7 separate regions of the Homo sapiens genome follow, and regions 1, 2, 3, 4, 5 and 6 are each linked to region 7. Evidence: promoter capture Hi-C in human tissues and cell types (Jung and others, 2019). All regions are on one chromosome and are shown on one strand. The core of a region is centred on a gene start or on the middle of the fragment in contact, and the rest is flanking DNA. Distances in the headings are between cores, read along the strand shown. Region 1 overlaps HDAC9 (histone deacetylase 9). Region 2 overlaps LOC105375179 (a long non-coding RNA gene). Region 3 has its middle 230 kb from the start of FERD3L. Region 4 overlaps HDAC9 (histone deacetylase 9). Region 5 has its middle 140 kb from the start of MIR3146. Region 6 overlaps HDAC9 (histone deacetylase 9). Region 7 holds the start of TWIST1 (twist family bHLH transcription factor 1).

Region 1 (3,540 bases), core at 519-3,018, 380 kb after region 7:
ACTGGTTGGAGAGTGGGTGCAGCCCACGGAGGGCGAGCTGAAGCAGGGCAGGGCATCACCTCACCCAGGAAGCACAAGGGGTTGGGGGATTTCCCTTTCCTAGCCAAGGGAAGCCATGACAGACTGTACCTGAAAAACGGGACACTTCTGCCCAAATACTGCACTTTTCCCAAGGTCTTAGCAATCGGCAGACGAGGAGATTCTCTTCCGTGCCTGGCTTGGCAGGTCCCACGCTCATAGAGCCTTGCTCAGTGCTAGCAGAGCAGTCTGAGATGGAACTGTGAGGGAGCAGCCTGGCTGGGGAAGGGGTGTCTGCCATTGCTGAGGCTTGAGTAGCTAAAACAAAGCAGCTGGGAAGCTCAAACTGGGCAGAGCCCACTGCAGCTCAGCAAGGCCTACTGCCTCTACAGACTCCACCTCTGTGGGCAGGGCATAGCTGAACAAAAGGAAGCAGACAACTTCTACAGACTTAAACGTCCCTGTCTGACAGATCTGAAGAGAGAAGTGGTTCTCCCAGCACGGCATTTGAGCTCTGAGAATGGACAGACTGCCTCCTCGAGTGGGTCCCTGACACCCATGTAGCCAAACTGGGAGACATCTCCCAGTAGGGACCGACAGACACCTCATATAGGCAGCTGCCTCTCTGGGAAGAAGCTTCAAGAGGAAGGATCAGGCTGCAATATTTGCTGTTCTGCAGCCTTCACTGGTGATACCCAGGCAAACAGGGTCTGGAGTGGACCTCCAACAAACTCCAACAGACCTGTAGCTGAGGGACCTGATGGTTAGAAGGAAAACTAACAAACAGAAAGGAATAGCATCAACATCAACAAAAAGGACATCTACACCAAAACCCCATCTGTAGGTCACCAACATCAAAGACCAAAGGTAGATAAAACCACAAAGATGGGGAGAAACCAGAGCAGAAAAGCTGAAAATTCTAAAAGCCTGAGTGCCTCTTCTCCTGCAAAGCATTTCAGCCCCTTGCCAGCAATGGAACAAGGCTGGATGGAGAATGATTTGTCAAGTTGACAAAAGTAGGCTTCAGAAGGTTGGTAATAACAAACATCTCTGAGCTAAAGGAGCTTGTTCGAACCCATCTCAAGGAAGCTAAAAACCTTGAAAAAAGATTAGATGAATGGCTAACTAGAATAAACAGTGTAGAGAAGACCTGAAATGGCCTGATGGAGCTGAAAACCATGGCACAAGAATTTCATGACACATGCACAAGCTTCAATAGCTGATTTGATCAAGTGGAAGAAAGGGAATCAGTGATTGAAGATCAAATTAATGAAATGAAGTGAGAAGACAAGGTTAGAGAAAAAAGAGTAAAAAGAAATGAACAAAGCCTGCAAGAAATATGGGACTATGTGAAAAGACCAAATCTACATTTGATTGGTGTACCTGAAAGTGATGAGGAGAAGGGAAACAACTTGGAAAACACTCTTCAGGATACTATCCAGGAGAACATCCCCAACCTCACAAGGCAGGCCAACATTCAAATTCAGGAAGTACAGAGAACACCACAAAGATATTCCTCAAGAAGTGCAACCCCAAGACACATAATCATCAAATACACCAAGGTTGAAATGAAGGAAAAAGTGTTAAGGGCAGCCAGACACAAAGGTCGGGTTACCCACAAAGGGAAGCCCATCAGACTAACAGCGGATCTCTCTGCAGAAACCCTACAAGCCAGAAGAGAGTGGAGGCCAATATTCAACATTCTCAAAGAAAAGAATTTTCAACCCAGAATTTCATATCCAGCCAAACTAAGCTTTATAAGTGAAGGAGAAATAAAATCCATTATACATAAGCAAATGCTGAGTAATGTTGTCAATACCAGGCCTGCCTTACAAGAGCTCCTGAAGGAAGCACTAAACATGGAAAGAAACAACTGGTACCAGCCACTGCAAAAACATGCCAAATTGTAAAGACCATTGATGCTATGAAGAAACTGCATCAATTAATGGGCAAAATAACCAGCTAACATCATAATGACAGGATCAAATTCACACATAACAATATTAACCTTAAATTTAAATGGGCTAACTGCCCCAATTAAAAGACACAGACTGGCAAATTGGACAATGAGTCAAGATCCATCAGTGTGCTGTATTCAGGAGACCCATCTCACCTGCAGAGACACACATAGGCTCAAAATAAAGGGATGGAGGAAGATCTACCAAGCAAATGGAAAGCAAAAAAAAGCAGGGGTTGCAATCCTAGTCTCTGATAAAACAGACTTTAAACCAACAAAGATCAAAAGAGACAAAGAACACCATTACATAATGGTAAAGGGATCAATTCAACAAGAAGAGCTAACTATCCTAAAGATATATGCACCCAATGCAGGAGCACCCAGATTCATACAGCAAGTCCTTAGAGACATACAAAGAGACTTAGACTCCCACACAATAATAATGGGAGACTTTAACACCCCACTGCCAATATTAGACAGATGAATGAGATAGAAGGTTAAGAAGGATATCCAGGACTTGAACTCAGCTCTGCACCAAGCGGACCTAATAGACATCTACAGAACTCTCCACCCCAAATCAACAGAATATACATTCTTCTCAGCACCACATCGCACTTATTCTAAAATTGACCACATCATAGGGAATAAAGCACTCCTCAGCAAATGTAAAAGAACAGAAATCACAATAAACTGTTTGTCAGACAACAGTGCAATCAAATTAGAACTCAGGATTAAGTTCTAATTAATTCTAATGAAAACTATATTCTAATCAAAACTGGACAACTACATGGAAACTGAACAACCTGCTCCTGAATGACTACTGGGTAAATAACGAAAAAAAGGCAGAAATAAAGATGTTCTTTGAAACCAGTGAGAACAAAGACACCACTTACCAGAATCTCTGGGACACATTTAAAGCAGTGTGTAGAGGGAAATGTATAGCACTAAATGCCCACAAGAGAAAGCAGGAAAGATCTAAAATCAAGACCCTAATATCACAGTTAAACGAACTAGAGAAGGAAGAGCAAACAAATTCAAAAGCTAGCGGAAAGCAAGAAATAACTAAGACCAGAGCAGAACTGAAGGAGATAGAGACACAAAAAGCCCTTCAAAAAATCAATGATCCAGGAGCTGGTTTTTTGAAAAGATCAACAAAATTGATAGACTGCTAGCAAGACCAATAAAGAAGAAAAGAGAGAAGAATCAAATAGACGCAATAAAAAATGAAAAAGGGGATATCACCACCAATCCCACAGAAATACAAACTACCATCAGAGAATACTATGAACACCTCTATGCAAATAAACTAGAAAATCTAGAAGAAATGGATAAATTCCTGGACACATAAACCTTCTCAAGACTAAAGCCGGAAGAAGTTGAATCTATGAACAGACCAATAACAGGCTCCGAAATTGAGGCAATAATTAATAGCCTACCAACCAAAAAAAGTCCAATACCAGATGGATTCACACCCGAATTCTACCAGAGTTACAAAGAGGAGCTGATACCATTCCTTCTGAAACTATTCCAATAAATAGAAAAAGAGGGAATTCTCCGTAACTGAT
Region 2 (3,146 bases), core at 524-3,023, 290 kb before region 7:
GAGAGAAAATGGATGGAAAGCTGTAGACTAAGTATAGAAAGCTCTTTCAAGTACATTTCCTATCAAAGTAAGGAGAGAAAGAGATGCTCAAAGAGGGATGTGTCAGGAAATTTTAGTTTTTTTTAAGACAAAAAAAAAAAAACATGTTAGTATGCTGATAGAAAAAATCTAGTAGAAAAGCTAAACTTGATGATACAGGAGCAAAACAGAAATGCTGTCACGATGTTCCGGAGTAAGTCAGAGAGGTTGGGATATAGTGCACAAGTGATAGATTTGGCCTTTGTCAAGAGCACAATTTATCTAGTGAAATAGGAAAACCAGAGTAGAGGCCAAGATGCAGGTGGAGAAGGACGTAGTGGTGGAACAAATGGAAATTCTCTTCTGATAGATTTTATTTCCTTAGTAGAAAGGAAGGGGTCATCAGTTAAGATTGAGAATGGGAGATGAGGTGTTGGGGGTTTGGATGGAGAAGAAAAAGCATGGAGAGTCATCTAGAAGGGTAGGGATGGAAATGGGTTAGGGAAATAATTGCTATACTTCATTAACAGTCCAGCTGAGTTTGCTAATCATAAAATTAAAGTGTGACTATTTTTGTCTTTATTTTCCAGCCTCCTTCAGCTGCTTGGGTACATCCACAGAATTTACAGAGTTGGATTCAAGCCAAACTTTACACGTTCAAATGGTTAAAAATATTGACTTCACTTTTATTTTTCAGTTGTATCATCATGAAAAAGTGATACATATGAAATGTTCTTGATCATCAACAGTGCTAAATTACTCCAGTTCTAATCCCTAATTTCTTAAGCTGTACATAGATTTGCCTACGTAGATTGATTTAAATTGTTTCACAATATAGTATGTCTTTAAACCATGGGTCAGCAAATTTTTTTATAAAGGGCTCAATAGTCCACATATTAGGCGTTGTGGGCTATACGGTCTCTGTCAGGTATTCAATAGCTATTAATAAAATATTCAGATAAACTTAAAATTTGTGAAAACATCTACAAGGGTGCCTGGCATTAACAATGATAATTAGAACATTTTCCTTCAGTGGAATGCATAGTTGGAATCCTTGATGTCCAAGGGGTAATATACAAATCAACAGGATCAGCTTTACCTGGGAACTCATTAGAAATGCAGAATCACAGGCTTCACATCCTGTCTTATTAAAGAGTCTGCATTTTAAAAAGAGCCCTATGTGGTTGTATGCACATTAAAGTTTGAGAGCTTTAGTTCAGAAAGCAAGACTAGGATTTTCCATATGTGGAATCAAATAACCTGTAACAAATATCACAAAGTTAACAAAAACTGGAATAATATGAAGCAAAATGAGAGAAATAAGAAAAGAAGAAAAGAGGAAGGAATTCATTTCCTGATCAGATGTCCATCAAACAATAAATGGATAAATAAAATGTGGTATATCCATAAAATAGAAAATTATTCACCCATAGATGAATCTTGAAAATATTATGCCTAGTGAAAGAAGCCAGTCACAAATGGCCACACATTTTATTTCCAATTATATGAAATGTCCAGAATAGGCATATCCATAAAGACAGAAAATAGATTAGGAGTTGCCAGGAGCTAGAAAGAGGGAAGAATGGGAAGTGATGGCTAACGGGTATGGGGTTTCTTTTCTGGGTGACGAACATGTTCTGGAATGAGATAATGATAATGGTTGCACAACTCTGTGAATAAAAGCTAAAAACCACTGACATGTACACTTTAAAACAGTGAATATCATGGTATGCAAATTATATCCCAATTTTTAACATCCAAAGAATTGAAAAATGGAGACAATAATTTAAAAAGTGATGAAAGGTTTCCTTCCATGGCAATTTTGTGGCAATTGTGTTTAAAGAGTTCTAGAATTTCAGGAAGGAGAGATGAGCAGAGACTGCCGTTCCTATAAAACTGATTGAAACAAATATCTATAATCAGAAAGAGTTTTTCTTTAGACTTTAGGTGAGTTTGATAAGGATGAAAAACTGCAGAGAAATTGGTTTTCTAGTGTACCTAAAGTAACCTACCTTGGGCCAAGTTGGCAGGAAGGTTGCTGGCAACTACTCCTGAAAGAAAGAGAGGGAGGGAGACAGAATTTGCAAGTTTGGTATGTTACACTGAATGTAACTTGAGTATCTTCCTGTATTAACTAACACCACAGATCTCTGCCACCAACCCCACAACACCACACCCTGTAGCCACAAACAGCCTTCAGGTTTTTCCTCCCCGCCTTCATAACGGTCTTAAGCCCAACCACATAATCTGAATTGGAAGATTTAAGTTGTTTGTATATGCTCCAAAAGGAATCCCAACTGTTTGAGTGTTTCACATACTTCGGAGTCAGTAATCACACAGCCTGGGTGATGACTGAATGAGTCACACTGAGGAAAACACAGACTGAAGTTGAATCAGGACTACAATTTGCAGATGTGCCCTCACACCCACTCAAAATGGGAATCTCCACTTATTTAAAGCCTCTAACTGTAACTTAGTACCCATTCTCTTATACTGAAAATGTACAAAACCCACAGGTTTTCTGAGTTGAAAATTAGTTTTCAAATAAAGCTGAAAGTTAAGTAGCAAATTCTTTACATTTTGAAAAATATATATAAAGAGAGCAGTGAGTGCATTAGTTACTAATATTTAGCAAGCTGTGATTTTTAAGGTTTTTAAGGATAATTTTCATTTTAAAGTCAATAACACCAAGCTTATCTATTAAGGAGCAAATCTTATTTCTTCTTTTCCTGCACCCACAGTAAAATGATAGTGGTAGGACAGCGTATGATCACTTTCACAAGCAAAACCTAACTTCCTAAAAATTTCCATTTTGGGCTGGGCACGGTGGCTCACGCCTGTAATCCTAGCACTTTGGGAGGCCGAGGCGGGCGGATCAGGAGGTCAGGAGATCGAGAGCATCCTGGCTAACACGGTGAAACCCCGTCTCTACTAAAAAAAAAAAAGAAAAAATTAGCTGGGCTTGGCGGTGGACGCCTGTAATCCCAGCTACTCGGGAGGCTGACGCAGGTGAATGGCATGAACCCAGGAGGCAGAGCTTGCAGTGAGCCGAGATGGTGCCACTGCACTCCAGCCTGGGCAACAGAGCGAGACTCCATCTCAAAAAAAAAAATAAAAAATAAAAAAAT
Region 3 (3,489 bases), core at 735-3,234, 260 kb before region 7:
TTGGAAAAATAAGGCTATTTTAGATTTATATAAAATGTCTCCATGTATAAAGCACTTTGACAGCCATTATATCATTCCGTTCTCTCAACAACTCTGTAAGGTTGGCAAGGAAATGGTATTTTTCCCATTTCCCAGATGAAGAGGCTGAGGCTCCAAATGCTTTCATGCGTTGCCTTAGAACAATGTGCTAGTTAAGCTGCAAGACTTGAATTCTGACCAGCTTTGTCCAGCTCCAATAATCTTCCTTTCCTACACCATCTGCCAGAACAGCTACACACAGGGGATGAAGGGTGACCAGTTATTTAAAATATCAGAAATTAATAAATACACTACCTTTGCTTTATAAGTAAAACTTTTTTCCTGGTAGGAAAAAAAGATAACTCGGGAATATTAAGCACGCAAAAAACTTTTCTTCATCAGTTTGGTTCTTTTCAAATTAAAGAGATTTAGTGAACTTGCTGTTGGAGATGACAGTAAACAACTCAAAATACAAACACACCAATCAAACCTATAAGTATAGTCATAGTCGTTGATATTCAGAATCGCTGTTCCTTGTCTGGTTAATTAATACAATTTTAAATATTTCATATGAAAGAATTTTTTGGAAAAAAAATGAAATGAACTTAAGATTGACTGGAATTTACAAGCTCATTTAAAGAAAAGTCTCAGCTATTTTTTTCTTAAAAATGTAATACCTCCCCAGATGGCAGTCTTTGTAGTTTGTGGCACTGATTCAAAAGGCATATTAACTGCCACTCTACTAGCTGCATCAAGCATTTACAGGCCTCCCTACAGAATGGGTTCAGCAGTAATTAAAATAACACCCTTCCTCAGGGTGAAGTTACACTTGAAGACTTCGGGGATGTTTTTCTTTCCTTCCTTTGGGTAAATTCCTTCTCCCCGAAATATAAGAAAAAGATGAGAGTGGAGAGAGCTTCAGAGAAAGATGGGGAGAGAGGGAGAGAAGTTTAAAATAGTACACCAAAGCGTGTGTCACATAAACTATTTTAAAATGTTAGTATTTCTTCCATTCCCTAGCAGACATTGATAGACAAACAGGTTAAAAAAAAAGCAAGGGGGAAAAATATCATTTACTCACTGTAGCAGCAGGAAATCAAGGAAAGAAAATAAACAGGGCTTGAATTGTGGGCCTTTAACCTGCTAGTCAGACAGTTTCATTCTGTGTGTATTTGTGTGCTGGTAAATGGCGAAGGGGAGGTACAGGGACGGGAGGGCTGTGGGATTCTCGGGACTCCCACAGCTACCAGTCCAGCTGTACAAACACGCACAAGCTTTGTTAAGGTACGGTGGGCAACAAGCTCAAACTGCTGAGCTATCTGACCTATAAATCCCTCGCAAAAGCTCCACTTGAGGGGAAGCCAGAAGTTATGTGTCAATTTTTTATCCAGCCAGAAGCTAGCTATTGGTCACTTCCGTCTCCCCTGTCTTTTTCTCTCAATGGATCCTCTGCTCTGGCGGGCTACATTTTAAGTATGTGTAGATGCATAAATGGCTATCTTAAATTCTACTTCTCTCTAGGCTAAACAAGAAGGGGGATGACTCAGAAGCACCCCCCCCCCCCACCACTTCATGACACAGCTTAGAGCATATGTTCCAAAATTATGAGCCATAACTTTAGGCAGAGCAATGAAACTTTCTGTTATTCTTTTTATAAATTTCTTTTTCAAACTCAGTAAGCGCATCACTTTAAAATACCATAAATTTACAAATACAATTTTTTTAAACAACGCAAGCACAAGAGACTTGAGATATTCCCTTATATATGACACAACTTACTTTGCTCTGTTTTTAACTTTGCTTTTTTCCTGATTCAAAACAGATAATCTTAGCTTGGCATATTGTATCTTGAATGCAAACAAAGAAGAGGTTCTGAATTGCTAACTCCAAAGAGAACCTTCCTAAGATTTTTTTTCTCTTTTCTAAACATTTCTGAACTCTAAGTGACCTCCTTTTATGAAGCTTCCAAATGGCATCCAAACACCTTAAACATCGTGCAGTTACTAAACTGTATAGACTATTAAAAAGCTGAAGAAATTACATAAAACTATAACACGTGAAGCAGGCTTAATTTAAGTAGAAATGGCTTTTGTAATCATTCAGAAAGCTAGAGATGTCTCTATGTTTAAAATATTTAGAAGCCACTTTGGGCTTTCCAAAATCCTGAGGAAAAAATATAATCCACACTAAAAACAAAAGGCATGTACCCACAGAGAGATGTTTACTCTATGCACCTTCTGTTCTGATAACTTAGAGTTATGTGATTTGGGTAGCATTCAAACAATATTGAATATTGAGAGACATTAAGCAAAAGTTGCATTATACTGAAATAATATTTCATGTTAAAGATTTATTTCAATAATTGTCACTGAATTTCTACAACACACTGAGCACCAGACTAGGACTAAAAAGGGTGGTAAGTGATGAATCATTGCTCTTGCTATCTTATCAGAATGTGCACTCAGGGAAAGAAGATAAAACAAGCACAGCCATAACTACACCACACAACTAAAAGAGAGAAGTACACCAGAAAAGTAAAAACGCAGAACTATGGACGTACAGAAGTGGCAGGAAGGACTTCCAGAAAGAGGAAGTCAATGAAAATTATGCCTTGGACCTTTTCATCTTCTCAAAATATATCATATATATCACATGAAGGATGGATAACTTCCATCACATTAAAATAATGATAAAGAAATAGAGACGACTTGTGGCAAAAGAGTTTGTAAACATTCTCTGACAAGGAATTTGAAGGAAAGAGATTTTGTTTCAGTGAACCAAATCCTGGGAGATGCAGCCTCTAGTGTAAAAATGAAGGTGCACATTCTAGAAAACAAGGAGAGGGTTCAAGTTTTATAGCAAGAAACTCCTGCCTGGGTTGCCAATCAGATCTGTTTATGCAAATGAAAGATTGAATCTTCCTTAGTTCTGATTGGTCAGTGCAGCTGAGCCTTGATTGGCTGGGGCAAGTAAGAGCTGACTGGTTTGTTTCAAAGCCCCAAACCAGAAGTCTCTGTCTTATGTTTCTTTCAAAGGGCAGTGGTGGGTGTGCAAGAGGGCATGTGATGGCATGAAGCTGGGTGAGGTTCTGGCTTTCTGATCCAGGCCTGACAACAGGAACTGGTTTTGCTTGATTGTAGAAAAGAAGGTTTCATGATACTTTCACAACATCTTTCTGAGAACATAGAGTTACTGATGGCTCCCTCACCCAGCTATGGCTGCATAGTTCTGTTTCAACTTTAAGCACTTCTGTTAGCCGTGGGGAAGTCCATTTTGTCTGTTGGCCAGGAACACACTTCAGCAAGTTAAAGGCTAGAGTAAGTGACTTCCAATTGAAAAAGATAGCTCAGCTAGGATAACCAAAAAAGAAGTAGATTCCTGGTCCCTGACTTCCATTCAGAAGGCAATATCTGTTCATCTCTCTGATATAGATTCAGAGAACACAGTTTTATATGATCTCTTGGAACCCAG
Region 4 (3,555 bases), core at 651-3,150, 340 kb after region 7:
ACATCTCTACAAAATAAAAGAAAGAAAGCCAAATATGTGTGGTGGTGTGTACCTGTATTCCTACCTCCTAGCTCTTAACAAAGCTCAAGCAAGAGGATCTTTGGAGCCCAGGAGGTTGAGGCTTCAATGAGCTGTGATTGTGCCACTGTACTCCCACCTGAGCAACAGAGCAAGACCCTGTCTCAAACAAACAAACAAAAAATTGGATGCCCCCATCAAAGAAAGCTGAGACAAGAAGGCCATCTCGTAGAACTGTTTCATTAGACTACTGAATTTGAATCTGGTTCAACTGAGTATGGATATTCTGACTATCTTCTGTCCTTAGTCCTATGAACTCCCAGGCCTTTCCTACCAGAGTTGACAATTATGAATAGAAGAAAATCAATGCAGAGTCTAAGTGATAGGTATGACAAGATACATGAGTGGGAATTGAAAAGGAAAAAAAAAAACACAACATAAGAAAAAATGTGAGTCTACATGTTGCTTCACACTTAGCACATAGGATGGTATTGGACAGTACATGCTTATTTAATAATGAATGAATGGATGGTAAATTGTCTTTAGAGGCAATAGATTAAGGAAAGAAAAGTAATCTATTTAGCAGCAAAGAATTTCGCTACTTGTAGGTCTTGGTTTTTATTCCTTAAATGGTCACATCTCAAAATGATACAAGTCATTTTGAGAAGTGCTTACAGATCGTCAGGAAGATACTCGATACAGGCACACCTTGTTTTACTGTGCTTCACTTTATTACACTTTTCAGATACTTTGATTTTTTACAAATTGAAGGTTTGTGGCAACGCCAAGTTAAGCAAGTCTATGGGCGTCATTTTTCCAGCAGCATGTGCTCACTTCCTGTCTCTGTGTCACATTTTGGTAATTCCTGCAATATTTCAAAAGTTTTTCATCATTATTTTATCTTTTATGCCCATCTGTGATCAGTCATCTTTGATAGTACTATTATAATTGTTTTGGGGCACCATGAATCGTGCCCATATAAGACAGTGAACTTAATTGATAAATATCGTGTGTGACTTCTGCTCCACCGATCAGTCTTTCCTCCATCTCTTCTCTTTCTCAGGCCTCCCTATTCCCTAATATTCAGGAATATTGAAATTAGACAAGTTAATAACCCTACGATAGCCTCTAAGTCTTCAAGTAAAAGGAAGAGTTGCACGTCTCTCACTCTCAACACTCTCAATCAAAAGCTAGAAATGATTAAGCTTAGCGAAGAAGGCATGTTGAAAGCTGAGACAGGCCGAAAACTAGACCTGTTGTGCCCAACAGTTAGCCAAGTTGTGAATGCAAAGGAAAAGTTTTTAAAGGAAACTGAAACTGCTACTGCAGTGAACACACAAATGCTAAGAAAGTGAAATAGCCTTACTGCTGATATGGAGAAAGTTTGAGTGGTCTAGACAGAAGATCAACCCAACCACATTCCCTTGAGCCAACGCTTTATCCAGAATAAGGCCCTCAATATTGAAGCAAAACCCTGCACCAGCAAAAAGATTACCACTCACTGAAGGCTCAGATGATCATTAGGATTTTTAAACATAGTTTTAAAATTATGTACATTTTTAAAGATATAATGCTACTGTAAACTTAATAGACTACAGGACAGTATAAACATAAGTTTAGTATACACTGAGAAACAAAACATTTGTGTGACTCACTTTATTGTGCTATTTGCTTTACTGTGTTGCTCTGGAACTGAATCTGCAATATTTCCAAGGTATGTCTGTGTGTATCCATAGTAAATATCAATTAGAGATTATATAAATCATAATATTTAGAATATAACAGAATAAATTCACCAAATGATTTCAGGAGCATAAAAATATCGAATATATTAGTCCTTTAATAGTCTTATCAGTCTTCATAGAAATAATGACTCAATGCATGCTCTATTGCTAAGAGAATCATTGCTTAGTCATTTAATTCCTTTATTTTACTTATTATTTTTTATTTAAAGTTAAGACACTCTATAGCAATAATGATACTGCTAGTCTAAAACTCAGAAGCTATGGGTTTTTCTTGAGTTGGGGAATGATTAAATCCTAGGGATTCTGCTGTGAACTGCCTGCTTATGGCTCAAGCATTCAGTGAGCTAATTTATTTTGGTTTTGAATTTTGAAAAAAAAACTGTTGTTCTCCATTAATGAAAGTTTAGAAGTTATGCTTTACTAAGTTTGTGGTTAAAATACTTCACAAAGACAAATCCAATAATGACACATCAGTTTTACATATTGAATATTAGTTTGTTACGGGGGTGAATATCTGGATCTGGAACTAACTATTCGGAGTGGAAATATGACAGATGAAAAATACAAATGCTGTTACTTCACCTTAAAATGAAAAGCTTAGGTGTGCCTGAATATAGCTGTATTTCAGGCTGCTACAAGAATTATTTTTTTTTAGGTAGTACCATTTCCTTTGTCTACTCTAAATTTTCATTTGATTTAAGCCTAACGTCTCCTTGGCAGTCAGAAGTAGCAATCAGTAGATGATCATATTTTCAAATCTATTCAAGTATGTTTTACTTTCTCAGCTTTTATTTAATCGAGCCACAGATCTTCTAAGTTAGATAGAAATTTAAATTTCATCAAATCCATTTACCTTCAGCAACTGCAGAGCCTAAGGCTGAATTTCTTCTTGTCTCAATGTTCATAATCGTTTTCTTCCTCCCTGTTATTGACATTACTTTGGTGGAAATAGGTGCTTTTGTGTGTGTGTGTGTGTGTGTGTGTGTGTGTGTGTGTGTGTGTGTGTATACAGTTTTTTAAAAAAATAGGTCTTATGGCCCCAGTAATGTAAAAAACACAAATAAAGCTTTGATGATGGCATTTTTTTAGCCATCTCATTTTGGCAACAGAAGAATTTTAACAGCTTTGTGATATTCATGTTTACTTTAAATAAGAAAATGAAGTATTCTTATTTCAAAATGCATCTCGTTGTACTTAGCCATAATGTCAAAGCAATAGAAAGAATTTAATCACAGATGAGATGCTGCAAGTAAGTGAATTAAGGAGGAAATTAAGGTTTTCTTCTCTCATTTTCTTCTTTCCTGCAATGGACATTAGATGCTTAATGATTCTATGTATTTTCACATTTTGTCCCATACACAGAGTAATGTATACATGTGTATCTCTGTAGGGAGTGTTGTCTACATCCCAACAACTATTATTGAGTATACACAATTAGCATAATCTATGCAATACTGGAAACTTCCTTTGCAATTTAGAAGGAATTCCCTGACTTTAATAATATTTCATGCATTTTTTCGAAGTCTGAGGCAACATAATCTTTTTACAGAATTTGCAGCATGAAACTAAATTCTCAGTTTCATTAAGGTGGCTTATCAGTTTTAATTTTGCCAGGTGCCATGGGGTGTTCTTGCTAGTATCAATTGCATCAAGTCTGAAGCTGATGAAAATCCAGATACAGTTAGGAAGAGGAGATATAAAAAAGAGAGATTCTAAATCAGGGTGGATCCTTTTATTGTGCTGGAGGGAAAAAGTTTGTGATACCTCTTTGATAGCAACAGTGGAGGAAATG
Region 5 (3,129 bases), core at 588-3,087, 450 kb before region 7:
AAGGGATTAATTACTGGATCATTGGACCTTTTACAAGGACTCTCAAAATACCTTCTGGAGAATTAGGAAGATAGGAATAATGGAGCTTTGAATCACCATCCATCACCTTAATTGCTAACATTTATAAAATCTCTAAAGTTGAGAGGAAATTTCACATACATGATTATGAATGTTTCCGGCAGTGGGGGAAAATCGTATAATTGAATAATCCAGAAATTAAGGTATATGACTTTAAGTGCAATGTAATTAGAAAAGTTTCTCTTAAAATTTGCTACTTGCACAAAGGCCTTTACATGTCATGTAGTTTGTAGGTCTCATGTTAAGTGTCAAAAACAAAATGTTTTTTTTAAAAAATACAACACATTCCAAAAAGCTCACTCTTATAGATAAGTTGAGATAGAGTAATAGTGTAAAGACAGAAATAGGGGACCTGCTGGGAAAATATTGCAATAATCAGAATTGTAGGTCAGATCAAATTGGCAGTAGAAGATATGAGACATGAACAGATTCTGAAACTTTTGAATATAAAGAGAACTTGTTGGTGGATCGGAGGCGGAATGTGAGAGAAAAAGGGGAACAGAAGTTGGTCTCCAGTATTTTAGCCTGAGAAACTGGTAAGGAGTTGCCATCAAATAAGATGCGGATGCTCTACTTGGAACATGTTTTTTTCAGGAAATATTATTAATATGAGGAAAAAATACTAGGAATAGGTGATGGGGAGATTAAAAATTTGCAATATGAAGGAAAGGTGTAACAAAAGCATAGTACTACAGTAAGGGAGTGAGCTTGAGAACATTGTGATTGTACACTAATTTGAGGTTTTGGTCATGAAGCTATAGTAATACCAACTTTTCAGGATATGCAATCATTTTCATCATTACCCAGCTGTACACATTCAGTAAGGCAGAAGACAGAGTTTGGTTTATCCTGGATTTGATTGTTGAAGGAAGAAAAGGAGAGTGAGTTGAGGAAATTCACCAAGGAATGTCTATAGTGTTGAGCTACAGAATTCAAGCAACATAAAGGGGAGATAAGAATTAGCCCGGCGTGGTGGCAGGTGCCTGTAATCGTAGCTACTTGGGAGGCTGAGGCAGGAGAATCACTTGAACCCAGGAGGCAGAGTTTGCAGTGAGCCGAGATTGCACCACTGCACTCCAGCCCAGGCAACAGAGCAACACTCTGTCTCAAAAAGAAGTTGTGGAGTACAGGGAGAGGGGAAGTAAGGAGACACTAAAATACCAACAACATATAACATTTGTAGGATTCAATGATCTTACTGCCTTTAAGCCTATTTCTAAAGATTAACATTGACGTATGTGCCCACAAAGAAAAATATTTATCACATTGCTGGTAATAGCAGTGCCTGAATTGTTCAGCCTAGATATTATTACAGAGTGTAAGAGCAAATATACTTTCAAAGTTCAAGCTCATTTTCATTTATTCTTTGTGACTAGTGGACTTAATAAGAACTTCTGACAGAAACAGATTTTCATCAACTATAAATAGAACATAATTCTTGAATTTGTGAATGGTTCTTTGCTGTTATTAATTAGTCCTTTCTTTTTCACATGTAGACTTAAGTTAGTGATTAATTGAAATGTGTTAGGACACTTGTGTTGTCTTAGCAGCTCTGTAGGATTTATGTACTACTTCTGGACAGCGATATAAAATGTGGATTTAATCAGAATGCCTTATACCCTATCTCCAAGAAATTCTATAGGAAACTAAGCTTTCCTAGTTCTAGTGCTTGTTTGGCAGAAAGAATTAAACTTTTTAAAACCATATGGCTCCATCATTTTATTATACAAGGGCTTTCTCTATGAGGATTACCTAAATGACATAGCTGAATCTAATGAGCCAAATTTATCAGAGACCTGTAGGTCTCATAACCTCCTCAAGACCAGATAGAAAGCATAATCAGTGAGTGTGGATTAAAGATACATTTCCTATAATTGTTAAGACTTTATCATAACCAGATTATGAATATCTAGATACCAGTTCAACTGTCTCCTAGGAATTTTAGTGCTTATTTATTAATTTGAGGAACAGAATGCCATCCTACTTCTGGCAATACTATGGACTAAATTAGTTTGCGTAAAATTTCTCACCTTCTTATCTGGTTCTAAGCCTGTAATGACATGAGTTTTCCTCTGTTCAAAAAAGACATATCATCTAGTCTAAGTATCATAAAACACATATTATCATTAAACATCTCTGCCTAATCTGAAGCTATTATACTGGTTCTTTATCTTGGAAGCAGTCAACTAACACCACCCACAGGGATCAAGTATATTTAATGCAGGAGGGATGACGTTTGGGTTTGTCTGATATTTTCTCATGAGTAACTTCAGGTGCTAGGCCTCCAAAAATGGCTGTCTGAGGAAGTTAAGCCATTCTCCACCACAGAAAGTTAGAATAAAATGTCACAAAATAGAAACAAATAGATAGATAGGTATTTCTGCATACTGCAAAATGATCAAAGGCATACAACAAAATGAGATATGTGTTTACTCTTTAAAAATTGCTATTGCCAGTGAGGTAGCTCATGCCTGTAATCCCAGCACTTTGGGAGGCTGAAGCAGGTGGGTCACTTGACGATAGGAGTTTGAGACCCAGCCTGATCAACATGGCGGAACCCTGTCTCTACTAAAAATACAAAAAATTTATCCGGGTGTGGTGGCAGGCATGTGTAATCCCAGCTACTCAGGAGGCTGAGGCGTAAGAGTCACTTGAACTGGGGGGCCGAAGTTGCAGTGAGCTGATATCACACCACTGCACTCCAGCCTGGAGGATAGAGTGAGACTCTGTCAAAAACAAACAAGCAAACAAAAACCTGCTACTACATTGGAGGAAACCAATGGAACATCTGTGGGCTTCTTACCCAGGGATGCTCAAAATACCACTGACCTCCACCCACCACTACCACCAAAGCTCAGGCAGTAAAAACTGGAGCTTTATGAGTGGTGAGTGATGGTTCGCACAGTTCAAGATTGACGGCACAAAGGTTTACTAGCTATGCTGGTGGACTCATTCAGGAAGAGAATATAGGAGACAATAATTGGCAACTATGATGGCCAGGTATTATGGTCTCAATGTGGGGTGGGAGGCAGAACATTAGAATTTAAGGGA
Region 6 (3,256 bases), core at 165-2,664, 360 kb after region 7:
ACAAACATAGTGCACATGTTTCTACAGAAAGAGAGCAGTGAAAACTAATTCAGTACCAAAAAAAAAAAAAAATGTTTCTACCTGTAGACAGGATCTGGAAAAAGCATGTTTTGAAATTTGTATCTCACAGAGACACTGCTAGGAGAATTTGGTGGATGATTAAGCTGAAAATTCTGAAAGAGCAACAGCTTTCTTTATTCCTTAACACATAGGATCTCCTGGAGTAATTCCGTTTTGCCTCACTTGTATAAATGCCTTAAATTTGTCACATTCAACTTTTCCTTTCATATTGAGATCTTCACCAGTTCCCATTTTCTGGTATTGCCATCAGTAATTTAGTATTTTATTTGTGTAGGCTTAAATATAGATATTCCCACGTAATCACTTCTCATATTTTCAACTTTCTGCGCACCCTTTATTCTTTCATTTCTCTCTCTCAAGGCTCTCTTGAGTTAAAGGTCAATAGCATAAAGAGTCAAAAAATAGGCTAAAGTTTTCTGATAATCTTAATTTAGGGAGTACTGATTTCTATTCTCAGAGATACTTGGTCCGAAGGATATCTACGTAAAGTTATCTATGATAGCCTGCCCAAAAAGATTTTTAAGAATTCTGAGCATATTGGGGCACACAATGCAAATAAGGAATGGATTTCATCTGGGGATTTCTCACCTGGAGTCAATACGGGTCTTAAATGCCTTACCAACACAGGCCTAGGAATGAAACCTCATAGCTTTTGTCACCTTCTTAATAAAGAAATTTGTGATGTAGGACTGTGTTCATTGTTACCTTATCGTTCCCTGTGACGTGCACTTAGTTTCTTCCCTGAGAGTCTGAAAAGGAGCTATGCTCACTGAGCACTTACTCTGTGGTTAGGAATATGATCATGTTTAGTTCAGAACCCTAAACAGTCTATATTCAGGTTGGGAGTTTGACTAAAGTTATTTAAAATGACCATATCATTGAGTCTCACAACACACCATGGTTCTTTCTTAAAGAAATAGTCTTTCTGAAAGAGAGCCCGTTAATGCATCCCGATTATAGAAGAAATGTTCTGAACATGATCTACAAAGTCATACTGTGACAGGATAAAATGCAGCCTACCCACACCCACCCACACACAGAGCACACACACGATATAGATTCATATTTTTTTCTGCCAAGGAGCAGGGAAAAAAGGAAACAGTTCTATTCCTTTCCCTCCTGTGTTCAAAGCCTGGATTGAGGCCAGTGTCCTAATCAGTTCTCATTGGCCCTGGAGGAATCAGAACCTTTTGTAAAATATAATAAAGGGCAAAAAATCATGATAAAATGCATGAAAAAGCAGTGCCTTTGGTTAGGGAACTAGAAATAATTTAGCAGAACAGATGGGTTGCATTGGTTTGGTATTATTGTGGACATGAAAGGGCTCATTTTGTGGCAGTTCCAAACTAAGAGAAAATGTCCAACTTAAATTTGACAAGTCAGAGTACCTGCCTCCACTGGGGAAAACTCCATTTTCTTTAATCATTTTCAAAGTGGTGACATACCAGGCAAGAATTTCCACTGAAATATCCCATTTTCTGAAAATATTTCATCCATTGTCTCTAAATAAAGGGATGTGGTTTCATTTATTTTCTCCAAAAATCCAGGGCTGAAGAAATTCAAAGGTTAAAAAAATGAAGAAAATAAAGAATCATAAATGACTTCTTAGTGTCAAAGTTACACTCTGCCACAAATACCATACTTAATATTTAATGAGTCAATTCATGGTCTTATTGATTTTTTTATCTATCTGTCTTTCTTAAAAAAAAACATAAAAATATGATCTCATTGCTTATGCCTAAGCACAACTACTGGAGTTTTAAAATGCTCCAACCAACTGCTTCTTAAAATGTTACGTAAGAAATGGTTTTTAACTGCCCCTGCAACTGCACAATCTTCCACACAACCCTCCTCGTGTAATAACCTGTACTTCTCAGAGTTTTTCTCATAAAAAAAAAAAAAGGTTGGGGAGTGAAAGAAGGAAGGAGGCAATCAAGCAGGCAGGTGGCCTAACAGGCTTTTGGTCCTTTCTGTGGGTCACATGGAAAAAAAGAGAATTGCAAGTTGGGAGCCTTGACTTCTGGTCCTGACTCCCACGTGTCCTTAATGTGCCTATAGTCAGCCATGAGATATCTCTATGGGCCTTTGTTTCTTCATCTATGAACATAAAGATGTTTGACTAAATTATGTCAAAGCTCATTTTTAGCCTTAAGATGATAGGATTCTATGTGAAATAACCTTACACGCAATAGAAATGCAATAAAACACGCTTCGCTTTGATTTATGCATTTGCCTTAGGCAAGCAAATAAAATAATTGCAATGATAAATTACTGAGGTTGAGGCCAAACAGGAAACCTGAATAAGGATTTTCAAAAGGAGTCCAGCTATTCCATGATGCTTGTTTCTTATAAGCTTAATCATAATTGAAAAATAAGAGAATTTTTCACAGCTCATATTCCTATCCTGTGACAACTTCAAAATAATAAACGCTTTTAATAATTTTTGAAAATTATGTACGACACTTGTGAGTTAGTGTCATCTTTGTTTCTCAGGTTAATGCTTACTTCTGTTACTTTCCCATCTCCAAATATTTGATTCACTTGCCTATTTGTCTCTATCTCGTTAAGATTATGTTAAGAAGTTGTGTTTCTGTTTCAGTAGTTCTTAACATTGGCTGCACCTTGGAATCAGCTGGGGAAGTTTAAAAGTTACTGATGCCTGGGTCCTACCTTATTACCTTTGTCTGGGTGCAATTTGGGCACCCAGATGTTTCCAACCACCCAGAGGATTCTAATGGGTAGCTTAGGTCAAGAACCACGTGTTAGAGGGAGCTGTCCATACTTACTGCTCATAACTGAGTGCAAGATACTGACACTGTACTGACCAACACTTGGGACTACGGAATGGTTAAAATATTGGTGGACGGAAGGTTGATGAGTAAAAATATTATCAATCTTCAAAATGTTAAGTGCCTTTCATGTGTCTTAATACTGCTTGATTCAGTCACTACGACTTATTTTAAAGTATTTTAGGACATAGAGCCATTTCTAAAGCACTTCAGAAAACAGCAAATCCCAGTTCAATAATAAAGCTCTGAAATGGTGACGAGCATATATACTCTCTATTTTTTTAAGTTTTACTTCCACCTATTTCAAATCACTGTCCTCACCAGAAAGCAAGAAAAAAATGTTATCCCTTAGTCTAACTGCTCAATTTTCACAATCCTTTATGCAA
Region 7 (3,190 bases), core at 455-2,954:
TACACCTCGCTGGAGAAATAACACTCGCCCTCACTTCTCCCAAAAAGCTGAACCCTTCAGTCGGCCCAAGCAGCTCCACACCCTGAGGTTTCCAAGACCAAAGCTGCGAGTCTCAGCAGGGAACAGCCACGTGGCCTGCCTGCGCCTCGCCTGGGCTCTTGCCTTCAGCTTGAGATATCTGCAGCCGCGAACCTTGCTCCAGCCCAGAAAGGGGCGCTTTGCTCAATTAATTGTTCCCGCCGGCGAGTCCGTACTGAGAAGCCCATGAGCGGACCTTATGTGCAGGGTACTCCAGCGCGGTGCACAAAACTCGTCGCCCCCAAACGCTGCCCCCACCCCAACACTGTGTACTGACTCCAGCTTTTTACTTTGCCATGTAAGGGATGGACCTGAAACGGTTATTTTACCTCAATTCATTTCAAAAAGGAAACAAGTATGGCATTGCAAAAGATGGGCTTCTTATCCAAGGCGACTTCCTTTCTGGTTCACCAACTTTGCTGCTTCCAGTTTGCCAGGATCTACATTAACACCCTCTTTGGGGCTCTTCGTTTTAACTTACAGACAGAAATGCTTAAAATGTTAGCGTATCCAAGCATTTGGAATTGGGGCTCACGAAGCCTAATTGTCCACTGGATGCCCTAGATAGTGGGGGCTGGGGCGGGGGGGGTCTCAGAGCGGGCAGCCCCTATGTCTAGGCGCTATCAAATTCCCACTTCACTCTCTTACAAGCTGGCCTTTCAAGGTCACAATGCGGAGCCTAATTTGGGGGTGGGGATGAAATGGCCACAGGGTCTCTCCCTTGGGTTGGCATTGCCAGCTGTTAGGGCCGCAGCAAAGGCGCTGCGCTGCCCCCCTCTGGCTCTGCTGCCTTTCCCATGGACTGGGTTTCCTTCCACCGAAGAGTGAACTTCTGCCTCTTTCGAGCACCTTCCGAGGCGTAGTCCTTTGGATGTTGGGGAGCGTCAGACTGGGTCGTTGTAGAGGGGAAAGGAGGGCCCAGAAGGGCGAGAGAGCAGGCCGGGACGCAAATCCTCAGCCCCCGCGGCGCGGCCACGTCTTCAGAAACGCCCAGGACCTCCGGGCTGGGCCGCCGCGGTTTGGCCTTTGGAACTCCAAGGGGTTCGTCTACCTGACCATTGGGTGGGCTCCGCGGTTGACACTTTTCTTGGCATGCCCCCCCACCCCGCGCCACACCACCCCCCCAGCCCCAGCAATCCCAAATCGGCCCCACGGACCTAGAGGGCTCTTGGGCGAGATGAGACATCACCCACTGTGTAGAAGCTGTTGCCATTGCTGCTGTCACAGCCACTCCGGATGGGGCTGCCACCGCGGCCAGGACAGTCTCCTCCGACCGCTTCCTGGGCTGCGCTAGGGTTCGGGGGCGCTGCCCGCACGCTCCGGCGGGGAAGGAAATCGCCCCGCGCCCGCCGGAGGAAGGCGACGGGGAGGGAAGGGGGAGGGCGGCTAGGAGGCGGGTGGAGGGGCCGGCCGCCCGGGCCAGGTCGTTTTTGAATGGTTTGGGAGGACGAATTGTTAGACCCCGAGGAAGGGAGGTGGGACGGGGGAGGGGGACTGGAAAGCGGAAACTTTCCTATAAAACTTCGAAAAGTCCCTCCTCCTCACGTCAGGCCAATGACACTGCTGCCCCCAAACTTTCCGCCTGCACGGAGGTATAAGAGCCTCCAAGTCTGCAGCTCTCGCCCAACTCCCAGACACCTCGCGGGCTCTGCAGCACCGGCACCGTTTCCAGGAGGCCTGGCGGGGTGTGCGTCCAGCCGTTGGGCGCTTTCTTTTTGGACCTCGGGGCCATCCACACCGTCCCCTCCCCCTCCCGCCTCCCTCCCCGCCTCCCCCGCGCGCCCTCCCCGCGGAGGTCCCTCCCGTCCGTCCTCCTGCTCTCTCCTCCGCGGGCCGCATCGCCCGGGCCGGCGCCGCGCGCGGGGGAAGCTGGCGGGCTGAGGCGCCCCGCTCTTCTCCTCTGCCCCGGGCCCGCGAGGCCACGCGTCGCCGCTCGAGAGATGATGCAGGACGTGTCCAGCTCGCCAGTCTCGCCGGCCGACGACAGCCTGAGCAACAGCGAGGAAGAGCCAGACCGGCAGCAGCCGCCGAGCGGCAAGCGCGGGGGACGCAAGCGGCGCAGCAGCAGGCGCAGCGCGGGCGGCGGCGCGGGGCCCGGCGGAGCCGCGGGTGGGGGCGTCGGAGGCGGCGACGAGCCGGGCAGCCCGGCCCAGGGCAAGCGCGGCAAGAAGTCTGCGGGCTGTGGCGGCGGCGGCGGCGCGGGCGGCGGCGGCGGCAGCAGCAGCGGCGGCGGGAGTCCGCAGTCTTACGAGGAGCTGCAGACGCAGCGGGTCATGGCCAACGTGCGGGAGCGCCAGCGCACCCAGTCGCTGAACGAGGCGTTCGCCGCGCTGCGGAAGATCATCCCCACGCTGCCCTCGGACAAGCTGAGCAAGATTCAGACCCTCAAGCTGGCGGCCAGGTACATCGACTTCCTCTACCAGGTCCTCCAGAGCGACGAGCTGGACTCCAAGATGGCAAGCTGCAGCTATGTGGCTCACGAGCGGCTCAGCTACGCCTTCTCGGTCTGGAGGATGGAGGGGGCCTGGTCCATGTCCGCGTCCCACTAGCAGGCGGAGCCCCCCACCCCCTCAGCAGGGCCGGAGACCTAGGTAAGGACCGCGCCGCTGCACCCCTTCGCCTCTCAGGTGGCAGACGGCAGGCCGGCCAGGCCGCGGTTCCCAGTCCACCTCGATTTCCTCCCCTCTCCCACTCTCCGCTCAGCCTTCCCACCTCACTTGGCACCGTTGCCTCGCGCCCCCAGCGTCCCCGGAAGGCCGGTCTGACCCCGCTAGGGAGAGCAGTCTCCAGGGGGATGCGCCCTGGTGAGGGGTGTGTGTGCGCGTGAGTGTGCGTGACAGGAGGGGAGACAGAGACACCCAGGGTCACGGGTAAGGACCGTTTTGTCAGCGCCACCCTTTCTTTCGGCTTTCAATTTTTGTTCTCCTTAAAACAAATGTTTTAAAACAAATTCCACCTCCTCCTCCTTTCCACCCACCCACTTCCTCTTGCCCTTGGGCTGAAATCCTTCCAGGTTGTTCAGCTTAATTTCTCAGTGGTGGTGATAAGAACAGTGCTCACTAGTCTTAGAAAACAGCCGCAGAGACCTAAACAATAACCGACTCCCCCCCCC

What was found. The method cuts DNA at HindIII sites, captures the fragments that hold promoters and counts their contacts. A contact is called where the count stands out against the background at its distance.
Region 1: a contact is called between a fragment that was not itself captured here and the fragment with the promoter of TWIST1 in region 7, in 1 of the 25 tissues and cell types used here (mesendoderm cells).
Region 2: a fragment that was not itself captured here is called in contact with the fragment with the promoter of TWIST1 in region 7 in 3 of the 25 tissues and cell types used here (H1 embryonic stem cells, IMR-90 fibroblasts and heart right ventricle).
Region 3: a fragment that was not itself captured here is called in contact with the fragment with the promoter of TWIST1 in region 7 in 1 of the 25 tissues and cell types used here (H1 embryonic stem cells).
Region 4: a fragment that was not itself captured here is called in contact with the fragment with the promoter of TWIST1 in region 7 in 1 of the 25 tissues and cell types used here (aorta).
Region 5: a fragment that was not itself captured here is called in contact with the fragment with the promoter of TWIST1 in region 7 in 1 of the 25 tissues and cell types used here (dorsolateral prefrontal cortex).
Region 6: a contact is called between a fragment that was not itself captured here and the fragment with the promoter of TWIST1 in region 7, in 1 of the 25 tissues and cell types used here (aorta).

What each region holds. Positions count from the first base shown.
Region 1 is chr7:18,736,752-18,740,291 of GRCh38, reverse strand. All of the region lies in intron 13 of HDAC9 (histone deacetylase 9), which reads right to left. Among named protein-coding and RNA genes, the nearest start is that of HDAC9-AS1, 160 kb to the left of the region's middle. The HindIII fragment of the contact is 3,301 bases long and covers 118-3,418 here.
Region 2 is chr7:19,404,255-19,407,400 of GRCh38, reverse strand. LOC105375179 (a long non-coding RNA gene) reads right to left here. Exons shown (of 6, transcript XR_007060244.1): 6 at 1,498-2,069. Among named protein-coding and RNA genes, the nearest start is that of FERD3L, 260 kb to the right of the region's middle. The HindIII fragment of the contact is 4,859 bases long and covers 1-3,146 here.
Region 3 is chr7:19,375,780-19,379,268 of GRCh38, reverse strand. No RefSeq gene overlaps it. Among named protein-coding and RNA genes, the nearest start is that of FERD3L, 230 kb to the right of the region's middle. The HindIII fragment of the contact is 3,576 bases long and covers 197-3,489 here.
Region 4 is chr7:18,772,579-18,776,133 of GRCh38, reverse strand. The region is part of intron 16 of HDAC9 (histone deacetylase 9); the gene reads right to left. Among named protein-coding and RNA genes, the nearest start is that of HDAC9-AS1, 130 kb to the left of the region's middle. The HindIII fragment of the contact is 4,534 bases long and covers 1-3,555 here.
Region 5 is chr7:19,567,415-19,570,543 of GRCh38, reverse strand. No RefSeq gene overlaps it. Among named protein-coding and RNA genes, the nearest start is that of MIR3146, 140 kb to the left of the region's middle. The HindIII fragment of the contact is 5,624 bases long and covers 1-3,129 here.
Region 6 is chr7:18,755,605-18,758,860 of GRCh38, reverse strand. All of the region lies in intron 14 of HDAC9 (histone deacetylase 9), which reads right to left. Among named protein-coding and RNA genes, the nearest start is that of HDAC9-AS1, 140 kb to the left of the region's middle. The HindIII fragment of the contact is 3,943 bases long and covers 1-3,256 here.
Region 7 is chr7:19,116,150-19,119,339 of GRCh38, reverse strand. It overlaps TWIST1 (twist family bHLH transcription factor 1), which reads left to right and starts at 1,704. Exons shown (of 2, transcript NM_000474.4): 1 at 1,704-2,669. The coding sequence starts at 2,019. The coding sequence ends at 2,627. RefSeq lists enhancers at 1-557, 1,631-2,414, 2,438-2,697. The HindIII fragment of the contact is 7,370 bases long and covers 1-3,190 here.